4 separate regions of the Homo sapiens genome follow, and regions 1, 2 and 4 are each linked to region 3. Evidence: promoter capture Hi-C in 16 types of primary human blood cells and fetal thymus (Javierre and others, 2016). All regions are on one chromosome and are shown on one strand. Each heading gives the region's core, a stretch centred on a gene start or on the middle of the fragment in contact. The rest is flanking DNA. Distances are from core to core; before and after follow the strand shown.

Region 1 (2,700 bases), core at 81-2,580, 260 kb after region 3:
TTCTACCTTCCTGCCCCTTTGCCCAAATATCACAGTGTGTACACCTGGTGCTGAGTGTGTCTAGTGATGCAGGCCTAGGGGAGACCCTTGAGCAGAGCCAGGGTGCCCACGTGCTGGCCTTGGGGCCTCTGGAGGCCTCTGCTCGGGCCCGGCTGGTGAGAGAGGAGCTGGCCCTGTACGGGAAGCGGCTGGAGGAGTCACCATTTAACAACCAGGTTGGGTTCTAGGCCGGGGCCGGTGGGTGTGTGGGGTGAATCTGGGAGCTATGAGGACCTGGGGTGCCGAGGCCGCTAGCTGCCTTGCACAGACCTGCTCCTTTGTTTTCTCAGAAATTCTGTCCATGGGAAGTTGTTAATAAGAAAATTGTGATTCCTGATCATGTCACCCAGCCCTCTTCCCCCGGTGAATGGCCTTTCCAGGGCCTCTCGGGGTGAGGGGATGAGTCAAGTGGTTTTTGGTGGGGTAGGCCGAGCCACAGGGGTTTTCTGGCAGGGCTGGCTGGGCAGAGCAGCGTAGGAGAGGGATGGTTTGTGTCCTGGGATGATGCCATGGACCTGGCGTCTGCTGGGGACTCTCAGAGGAGGAGCTGCCTGGCAGAGGGGCTGGTGCTGGGGCAGAGGGCTGGCTGCGGGCAGCCCTCCTGGACCCCACCCTGAGTCCTGAGTCTTGCCAGATGCGACTGCTGCTGGTGAAGCGGGAATCAGGCCGGCCGCTCTACCTGCGCTTGGTCACCGATCACCTGAGGCTCTTCACGCTGTATGAGCAGGTCAGTTCTCATCACCTTCCAAGTCCTAATCACTACTTCCCATTCTCTCTTCAGCTGCTTTGTCTCATCCCTATCCCACGTCCTTTGCTGTCTTGTGATCACCCACTCCCTATCCTCGCCTCATACCTCGCCTCACTTCCCTCCTACTGTTGTTCTTTACTTTTTCATTCCTCCACACTGTCCTCCTGCTGCCCCTTCCCTATCCCACAAGCCAAGCTGCTTCTCCTCCCACTGCACTGAACAAGGCTGTCCTCCCGCCATCCTAGGTGTCTGAGAGACTCCGGACCCTGCCTGCCACTGTCCCCCTGCTGCTGCAGCACATCCTGAGCACACTGGAGAAGGAGCACGGGCCTGATGTCCTTCCCCAGGCCTTGACTGCCCTAGAAGTCACACGGAGTGGTCAGTGCTTGGGGTGGGTTGGTTGGGAGGCTGAGGGCCAGGGTTCGGATTACATTGGTTCCCTTGGGGTCTCAGCAGGCAGTTCAAGGAGAGACTGGGTGTGGTGGGGGCGGGGACACCGTATGGTTAGATGAGGGCCTCAGAGAGCTTGAGTTTTCAGGTTTGACTGTGGACCAGCTGCACGGAGTGCTGAGTGTGTGGCGGACACTACCGAAGGGGACTAAGAGCTGGGAAGAAGCAGTGGCTGCTGGTAACAGTGGAGACCCCTACCCCATGGGCCCGTTTGCCTGCCTCGTCCAGAGTCTGCGCAGGTACAGGTGCCCCAGCAGAGCTCCCGCTGACCTCTCTGTGCCTTCCCTTCTTTGAGCCGGGGCCCTCTGTATAGCTTCAACAACTGGCTCCCAGACCATGAATGAGCTACTGCTCCAGCTGCTCCAGTTTCCGCTATTTGAGGGGGGAATAGGAGCCCACTGTGTGCCAGGAAGCTCACTGACAGGCCTCTTCCTTCTTCTCTCTCCCTTCCTCACACGAGGACAGTTTGCTAGGGGAGGGCCCTCTGGAGCGCCCTGGTGCCCGGCTGTGCCTCCCTGATGGGCCCCTGAGAACAGCAGCTAAACGTTGCTATGGGAAGAGGCCAGGGCTAGAGGACACGGCACACATCCTCATTGCAGGTGATTGCAGCCCAAGTCAGCCTGGGCACTGAGTGTGGGGCTTGGGCCTGGAGGCCAGGACCACCCACTGTGCTCCCATCTGCTGGCCAGCTCACCTACTGCCCTTGGGAATGATGCAGGGCTGAGCCTTTCTCAATATCTGTTCATGCAGCTCAGCTCTGGAAGACATGTGACGCTGATGCCTCAGGCACCTTCCGAAGTTGCCCTCCTGAGGCTCTGGGAGACCTGCCTTACCACCTGGTTAGTTCCTAGACCCCATAGACACCTTTCCCAAAGTGAGTGCTTTGGTTGCTCTGAGACCCCTCTCCCCGTTACCATCTCCACCATCACCGCCGCCATTACCCCTCCCAAACTCCCTTGACCTCTTTCCTTTCAGTTTTCCTGCCCTTCTTCTTCAAGTCCTTTGTCCCAGCTCAGATCCTATCTCTGTATCCAGGTTCTGAGACTAAACTGTCCCTTCTCACCAGCCCCTTCATATCCCTAATGAATTCAATCTGACCTTCTCAGCTCCAGAGCGGGAACCGTGGACTTCTTTCGAAGTTCCTTACCAACCTCCATGTGGTGGCTGCACACTTGGAATTGGGTCTGGTCTCTCGGCTCTTGGAGGCCCATGCCCTCTATGGTGAGATGAGTCACTGGCTGGGTTCTTCTCTGAGATATGGGACTCCTGGGTGTGCTTATGGGGGCCCTGCTCAGGGTTGGGGCAGGGGTGTGGGTGTCAGGGAAAAAAGATTCAAATTTCCATTTCGAGTTGAAAATGCCAAGAGGGTGAGCACGTGACTCTCAGGAGACCTTTCACCTTGATCTCTTGGACCAGAGATTCTTCAACTTTATTTAGTTAGCATAAAACTATCTAGGAAACTT
Region 2 (2,700 bases), core at 54-2,553, 420 kb before region 3:
TAGGGAATTTATATTATGTTTAACTTTTCTCCATTGTATGAAGAAAAGGTATAAAAAGATTTGTAGAAATGTACTCCTCCGCACTTTGAATTATTCCCATTCGACATATTTTACAAAATGGAATTATTGGGTCAAATGGTAGGAGCCATTTTATAACATTTGTTACTGCCAGATGTGGCAATATGTGGAGGGCAGGGGTCATGAAACACTCTTAAAATATTAAAAAGGTTGATTGTGAAGAGGAATTGGGCTTACTCTGAATGGCTCAAAGCGGTAGGGCATCAGTGAATTGTTGCAGTTATAAAGAAGCAGATTCGGTTCTATGTAAGGGAGTTTTGAATACTTAGAGTTGCCTGAAAATGGGACAAGCTATCTCCATAGGTAAATTCCCTCTCACTGAAAAATTTTAAGCATAATGAGAGAGCTTTTAAAGAAATTGTTTATAAGCTTTCCAGATTTGTGATCTGTACATTTTCCTACCCCCAGCCCTTTGCTCCAAAACCACATTTTGTTAAATGAACATTTATTAAGACATAACCTGTGCCTGTTATAGCTAGCAGTGGCCTCAGCTCTCATTGGCAGACCCCCAGCAGAGTCAGTCTTCTGGAGCAGACAATCTAGGAATTCCAACAGCGTGAAGTCATTCCCATCCTCCAGACTTCAGAACTGCCAAGCAGCGGATAAAACTTTGTCTCTAGTTCCTTGACATTTCCTTTTTTTTTGTACTTAGTGTCTACCTCCAGGTCTCTGCCCATGTTGAACATACGCATAAGACCCCCCAATTACAAAACCTATATCCTTGCCTTGCCTCCAAATAACCCCAAGCCAAATCCAACACCTAAGTGATTGATTCCAAGTAATTGTTACATTATCTTATTTGTGCCAATAGATATTTGCACTTCAGATGAGGAGTTTGGAATCCCAAAAGATCTGTAATTGGCGGAATATAGCACTCCTAATTCCATTAACAGAACTTTACTTCCTCACCCTGAACACGTGTGTGTTTATATACACACACACACATACACACACACACATACACACCACTTTTAGGCAGGCACTCTAATTTACTGAAGAAACTGGTTGCTTAAAATCCGTTTTTTGTTTTTGCTTTTGTTTCCTTTTTGAGACAGGGTCTCGCTCCGTTGCCCAGCCTGGAGTACAGTGGTGAAATCTCAGCTGACTGCAACCACCACCTCCTGGGCTCAAGCAATCCTCCCACTTCAGCATCCCCAGTAGCTGGAACTACAGGCAGGTGTGCACCCCTACACCTGGCTAATTAAAACAATTTTTTTTTTTTTTTTTTTAGAGACAAGGTCTCACTATACTGCCCAGGCTGGTCTTGAACACCCGGGCTCTATTGATCCTCCTGCCTCAGCCTCCCAAAGTGTTGGAATTATAGGCATGAGCCACTGGAACCTGGGAGGTGGAGGTTGCAGTGAGCTGAGATCGCACCACTGCACTACTCCAGCCTGGACAACAGAGTGAGGCTCCATCTCAAATAACAAAACACACACACACACACACACACACACACACACACACACTGTGCCCAGCCTGTTTTGTTTACATTTTAAAAGCTACTCTACTTAGTAAAAGTAGTCTCAAACTCCAAGTTTGGCCAAGGAGGAAAAGTCCCTATAAAGGGTGGAGACCTGACCACAGCCTTTGAGTTTTACTTTTTCTGGGAGTATATTTTGCTGAAATCCTCTGCCACCCCTACACGGGCCTCAGGCAAACCCTGCTCACCTTTCTCAGTTTTTCTAGGATATAATACTCCCATTCCCAAGTCAGAAAAATAACCCAACTGAAGGCAGCACAGTGCAGAGGGAGGAGAATGCTGAGGAGAGACAGAGGTCCAGGTTCCACTCTGAGGGCTCCACTGCCAGTCGCATGCCCTTGAGCCTGAGCCTTGAGCTTCCCTCCCTACTAAACGCCCCAGCAAAATCAACAAACATATTAACACCGGAAAATATAATCACCAAAGCCCACTGTGCAGTACAGATGAAAATATCATAGAACATGAATCGGTCTTGTAGTGTCAATGTGAGTTTTTAAAATGTTTCTTTTGTGTCCAACAAAGAGTATTTAGAGGCTACTTGGCTTTTTAACACTTATGTTTCCTATGTTAAAGTTATAAATCAGCTTCCTTAAGCTTTTATGTTTAACTTACATAGAAATAAATTCTAATAATCACTTTAAAGAATTGTATTCACCGACTATTTGATCTTATTTGTAAGTAGTTAATGAAACTCTTTAAACATTAAAAGAGATATTTTATAAATTCAATATATATTCCATGTCCTTATAAAGTAATTTGGGCATTTGAGCTAACCAGCAAAACATTCCTGAATACTTAAAAACCTTTATAAATCTAACAATTTCTAAATAGGATGATTCAATTTCTATGTTTTCTTACATGATCCAAAACTAATTTTAAAGGAAAGTTTCATTTCAAACCATGTGCATTTTAAATTAGAATGACAAGCCTAATACAAATTCCTTAATACAAACATGTTAACGCTATGTGTTGATTCTTTTAAACATTTCTATACTTAATTCTAAATTTTCTGGATGTTAGAACATACTTACCCACTGGAAAATATTTATGTCCTCCCAAATGGCTGAGGAGCCCCTTCTCAAGTGATTTTTTGGAAACACGTTCTCAGGGGCCCAGAGAACACACCCAGTAGAGATTCG
Region 3 (2,700 bases), core at 88-2,587:
GGCATACTCCCATTCAGCTTCCCTATCTTAGTGCACCTGAAGGGAAAGAAAGGTGCTTATTAAGGCCCATCGTTTTACTGGGGCCCATTGTATGATGGTGAAGTTTGGCGGTTACCCAAAAGAATTTCCCCTCACCTCCCTCTGTGCCCGAGCTGTCTTATCTGTGTTTTACTGTCTGCTCTTTCTGGCTGCCTGTAGTTAGAAGAGAAGTGATTTCTTTGAAATGCATGAGGCTAGAAAGGGAGCTGAAACTTAAAGTGGCAGTGTTTGTCCAAGACGATGGTGCTCCTGCTCTGTCAAAAGGGAGTAAGGATTCTCCTGATACCTGAGGCATTTTTAAACAAGCTTTCTGGATATAATGGACTTGATTTTTCTAACTGGTGGTGGTCCTCAGAACTGGGAGGACTTGAAGCAAAGAATAAGAATCAAAGAATAAGAACATAATTTTTTATTAATAGTTGCGGTCAGAAATTCATAATTTTGGCTCTGACAAACATCTGACGGGGTTTCACCATGTTGGCCAGGCTTGTCTCAAACTCCTGGCCTCAAGTGATCCGCCCGCCTCGGTCTCCCAAAAGCTGGGATTACAGGCATGAGCCACTGCGTCCTGCCGGAAAGGGTAATTTTATATAATTTCATTAGGTATACTAATGGCCTAGATTCCTGTGACTCATTGTACAGTTGGACAGTTAAAGTACAAATTGATAATCTTCCAAGAGTAATGGCAAGCCAAGCCTAGATTCTGGTGTCCTAACTTATAGCCAGGGGCTTTCTCTGCCATATAATTTTTAAGTTAAGTACTAGACACTCTTAAATTCTTTGCACTATTATATCATTTGCTCCTTACAGCATTTCACAACTGAGGAGCACAGAGAGGGTAAGTAACCTTACCAAGGCTACTCAGCCAGTAAGTGGAGATGCAGGAATTTAAAACTAGGTAGTCTGACTCAAGTTCTGATCCCAGTTGAATGGTAATCATATTCTTCACAAAATCCTTTTTCAGATATTTTTGCCCAACTCAGATGCTCAGTGATATTGTTATTACAATAATGAGGTGTCATTATTTAAGATCTGAGAACAGGATATGTGAAGATGGAGGAGATGGAGGCTCCTGGCATTTTCATACCTAAGTTTTGTTACCCTTTAGAGAAAATCTTCTCTAGTGCTAAAATCAATCAGATGATGACCTTAAGTGCTTCAGATCTTAACAGGACCTGCAATTGGATAAACTGGGGATATGAGTCCCATATCATGATGAAGTAAGTTTCAGGACTGTAAGCAGAGGACCTGCTCTTACCAGGATCATGTTTTTGTTGTTGGACAGGTGAAAAAGACAATGAGTCCTGATGGGAACCACAGTAGTGATCCAACAGAGTTCGTCCTGGCAGGGCTCCCAAATCTCAACAGCGCAAGAGTGGAATTATTTTCTGTGTTTCTTCTTGTCTATCTCCTGAATCTGACAGGCAATGTGTTGATTGTGGGGGTGGTAAGGGCTGATACTCGACTACAGACCCCTATGTACTTCTTTCTGGGTAACCTGTCCTGCCTAGAGATACTGCTCACTTCTGTCATCATTCCAAAGATGCTGAGCAATTTCCTCTCAAGGCAACACACTATTTCCTTTGCTGCATGTATCACCCAATTCTATTTCTACTTCTTTCTCGGGGCCTCCGAGTTCTTACTGTTGGCTGTCATGTCTGCGGATCGCTACCTGGCCATCTGTCATCCTCTGCGCTACCCCTTGCTCATGAGTGGGGCTGTGTGCTTTCGTGTGGCCTTGGCCTGCTGGGTGGGGGGACTCGTCCCTGTGCTTGGTCCCACAGTGGCTGTGGCCTTGCTTCCTTTCTGTAAGCAGGGTGCTGTGGTACAGCACTTCTTCTGCGACAGTGGCCCACTGCTCCGCCTGGCTTGCACCAACACCAAGAAGCTGGAGGAGACTGACTTTGTCCTGGCCTCCCTCGTCATTGTATCTTCCTTGCTGATCACTGCTGTGTCCTACGGCCTCATTGTGCTGGCAGTCCTGAGCATCCCCTCTGCTTCAGGCCGTCAGAAGGCCTTCTCTACCTGTACCTCCCACTTGATAGTGGTGACCCTCTTCTATGGAAGTGCCATTTTTCTCTATGTGCGGCCATCGCAGAGTGGTTCTGTGGACACTAACTGGGCAGTGACAGTAATAACGACATTTGTGACACCACTGTTGAATCCATTCATCTATGCCTTACGTAATGAGCAAGTCAAGGAAGCTTTGAAGGACATGTTTAGGAAGGTAGTGGCAGGCGTTTTAGGGAATCTTTTACTTGATAAATGTCTCAGTGAGAAAGCAGTAAAGTAAAAGTGAAGAGTCTAGTAACTAGTCTTTTTTTTTTTTTTTTTTTTTTTTTTTTGAGAGAGAGAGAGAGAAAGTCTCACTCTGTCGCCCAGGCTGGAGTGCAGTGGCGCGATCTCAGCTCACTGCAACCTCCACCTCCTGGGTTTAAGCAATTCTCCTGCCTCAGCCTCCTGAGTAGCTGGGATTACATGTGCCCACCACCACACCTGGCTAATTTTTGTATTTTTAGTAGAGATGGGGTTTCACTCGATGACCAGGCTAGTCTCAAACTCCTGGCATCAAGTGATCCACCCACCTCAGCCTCCCGAAGTGCTGGGATTACAGGTGTGAGCCACCACACCTGGTCTTGTTGTCATTTTTAAAAATCATAT
Region 4 (2,700 bases), core at 82-2,581, 290 kb after region 3:
AAGCCAATATTATTGTACTCTGTTGTTCTGCACAGATAGGCCATAAGCATAAAAAAGCCAACACCTTCCTCTGACTCCCTCTTATAAGTTCTACAGCTGTACTTTCGGGCAAGGAGTGTCTTTCCAAACGCAAAGCTAGACTCAGACCTGTTATGAAGGTCCTCTCTGAAGGCTTCTTTCTCACCATCCTTCTCCACTTCAAACAAATCCAGCAAGGTCATGGTATAGTCGCTGTGTGTGGGAGCATGGGTAGATTGTAGGTACTGGGAAATCACCTGTGAAAAATAAGACAAAAAGGCTGATGTAGACTCTACAAGAGACTGAGCTGAACTGAAGAATTTGGGGATTCTGATATAACTTGGCAGACCTTTCTGCTCCCAAACAGTCTTACAAGGCAGCTAGGAAAAGCTTGGCCTTCCCAAATCCCTAGTACATAAAAAGTCTGCCCTAATTGACAATTTGCTCTTGACAAGAAGTAGTTAGAGAACAGTGGGATGGGGGAGGTGGTTAAGGGTGCAAGAATATGAAAATAAATGATCATTTTTCTTACTTTGAACTCATAACTTTCATGGTCAAGGGGGCGCAAGGCACAATGTAGGTTTCTATAGTGTTGGTCCAATGGGTGTTCTGGGCTTTGTAGCTCTGTTTTCACCAGCTTAATAGCAATTTCAATGTCTCCCAAAGCCTGAGAAGATGAGATATAGAATCAATGTGGGAGGACACTGGTATAAGGGATATAATACTTCTCAAATCATACATATCTCACCTCTAGTAATTGTATTTTTTCTGACAGTTCCTTCTGTGTCCGGATTAGTGGAGGAGTACGGAGTCTAAGAACAGAGATATAACCCATAATGAGCTTTCTGACATGTGGCTAAAAGGCGCATGACTAAAAATAGAAAATGACAGATAGGTCCTTTAGAAAACAGGTATGAGAAACAGGTTTTCCATTTGAGAGAGAAAGAGATCTGTAAAGAGATCTTAACTTCCAAATATATAAAATAATATTAAATATATACTCGGTATAAGATGAACTATGTGGATTTTGACTTTTGAGACTAGAGTTAAAATTATTTTTTATAAAATCATTTAAAAATAAGTTATATTGATATCAACAGGGAACAGTTGGATACAGTTCTATCTAGAAGCACAGGTAGACCTGTTGACCACTCAGGGTTATTTCTAGGTCACGGGGCTCTATAAAGCTATAAAAGAAATAGAAATCGGATGTAAACCAGAAAACAGAATCAACAAATGTAAAATGTTATTTTGTCTATCTAATATCACTTGAGTTCACAGAAATGGTGTTTGTGTGGTTTTAGTTACTCAAATAGGAAAAGGGGGTGATATGCCTGAAGGTGTTTTACTTGGGTGGTTGGATAGCTAGACCCATTCTCTCTTGGGTTGGTAACTTCCACTTTGTCAGAGAATATGGCTGTGGTCAAGCCGGGAGATTGCATCCCATATTTGTAAGCTGATTAAATAGGCTACCTATATATCATTTTGTTTCTGTACCTATTCAAGACGATCATTTTCTTAGGAATAAAAGATTTAAAAGATTATAGCTGCTGCTGATGGATACAGGGGATATGTATAGGTAGAAGAACAAAGTGAAGTAACAGCACAGGCCTTACCCAAAGTCATGCGGAATCCTGGTGTAGAATTCATTGCATGCTTCCATGAGAGCTCGTCCATGCTGGCCAGCCCGAATACAATCCTCAATCTTCTTAAGAGACTGGTAACCTGCCTTGATTTGTGCCACTGTCAGCTTCCCTGCAGGCCCACCCAGAGATCAGACTCCAAACTAGGATCCCATCTAGTGAACTGTACTTAACATCCTTCCCTAAAAAAGACTTTCATCTTTCAACTTTTTTTTTTCCTGTTTTTAAGATGGGGTCTCACTCCTGTTGCCCAGGCTGAGTGCCGTGGCACAAACACAGCTAAATGCAGTTCAACCTCCTGGGCTCCGGTGATCCTCCCACTTCAGCTTCGCAAGTAGCTAGATCACAGGCACACACCACCATGCCTGGCTAATTTTTCTATTTTTAGTAGAGATGGGGTCTCACCATGTTGCCCAGGCTGGTTTCAAACTCCTGGGCTCAAGCAATCCACCTGCCTTGGCCTCCCAAAGTGTTGGGATTATAGGCATGACCCATCACACCCAGCCTCAACTTTCAAAATAGTTCCTCTTCCCTCCATACAACCTGTCACCCCAAATCCCATTTTCTTCATTCAGTACTATGAGCAAGCTTTAAATCATAATGATAATAAAGTATCCATTAAAGGAGCTAGGAATTATAAGGAGAGAATGCAGAAGAAAATGTGAAGTCCTACCAAGTGGGGCTTTCTTGGTATTATACTTCATTTCCATCATCATTTCTTCCATGGCCTGAACATTACAGATCAACTTTATTAACTCCTGTACCCGAAGATCTAGCTGTGACTCTGGCTTCAAGGGAGATTTAAGAGATTCCTCTTTCTTTGTTTCCTCTTCATCCTATAGCAAAAAACAAACAAAACACAAGACAATCTAAGAAATCATCTCTAGATTCCTTATAACACCCAATATTATACAATGTAAATGCTTTGTAAAGTTTTTATATTGCACTGTCTAGGGAATAATGAGAAGCAAGGAAAAAAAGGCTGTACAGGTTCAGTACAGAAGCAATTTTTCAAACATTTTTGATTCTCAGTTCATTG

Evidence for each region. The method cuts DNA at HindIII sites, captures the fragments that hold promoters and counts their contacts. A CHiCAGO score of 5 or more calls a contact.
Region 1: a contact is called between a fragment that was not itself captured here and the fragment with the promoter of OR6S1 in region 3, in 5 of 17 cell types (naive B cells, naive CD4 T cells, neutrophils and 2 more). The highest score is 7.0, in naive B cells.
Region 2: a fragment that was not itself captured here is called in contact with the fragment with the promoter of OR6S1 in region 3 in 1 of 17 cell types (monocytes); the score reaches 5.6 in monocytes.
Region 4: a contact is called between a fragment that was not itself captured here and the fragment with the promoter of OR6S1 in region 3, in 9 of 17 cell types (total CD8 T cells, non-activated CD4 T cells, naive CD4 T cells and 6 more). The highest score is 7.3, in total CD8 T cells.

What each region holds. Positions count from the first base shown.
Region 1 is chr14:20,380,689-20,383,388 of GRCh38, reverse strand. TEP1 (telomerase associated protein 1) reads left to right here. Exons shown (of 55, transcript NM_007110.5): 27 at 36-215; 28 at 674-766; 29 at 1,033-1,165; 30 at 1,326-1,476; 31 at 1,703-1,836; 32 at 1,988-2,076; 33 at 2,344-2,458. Among named protein-coding and RNA genes, the nearest start is that of TEP1, 31 kb to the left of the region's middle. The HindIII fragment of the contact is 2,872 bases long and covers 1-2,700 here.
Region 2 is chr14:21,061,556-21,064,255 of GRCh38, reverse strand. It overlaps a transcript of NDRG2 not described here and a transcript of ARHGEF40 not described here. Among named protein-coding and RNA genes, the nearest start is that of RNASE8, 5.1 kb to the right of the region's middle. The HindIII fragment of the contact is 1,708 bases long and covers 450-2,157 here.
Region 3 is chr14:20,640,328-20,643,027 of GRCh38, reverse strand. It overlaps OR6S1 (olfactory receptor family 6 subfamily S member 1), which reads left to right and starts at 1,337. Exons shown (of 1, transcript NM_001001968.1): 1 at 1,337-2,332. The coding sequence starts at 1,337. The coding sequence ends at 2,332. RefSeq lists an enhancer at 1-400. The HindIII fragment of the contact is 1,898 bases long and covers 348-2,245 here.
Region 4 is chr14:20,353,882-20,356,581 of GRCh38, reverse strand. It overlaps PARP2 (poly(ADP-ribose) polymerase 2), which reads right to left. Exons shown (of 16, transcript NM_001042618.2): 8 at 2,335-2,497; 9 at 1,635-1,773; 10 at 767-830; 11 at 551-685; 12 at 148-275. Among named protein-coding and RNA genes, the nearest start is that of PARP2, 12 kb to the right of the region's middle. The HindIII fragment of the contact is 1,841 bases long and covers 411-2,251 here.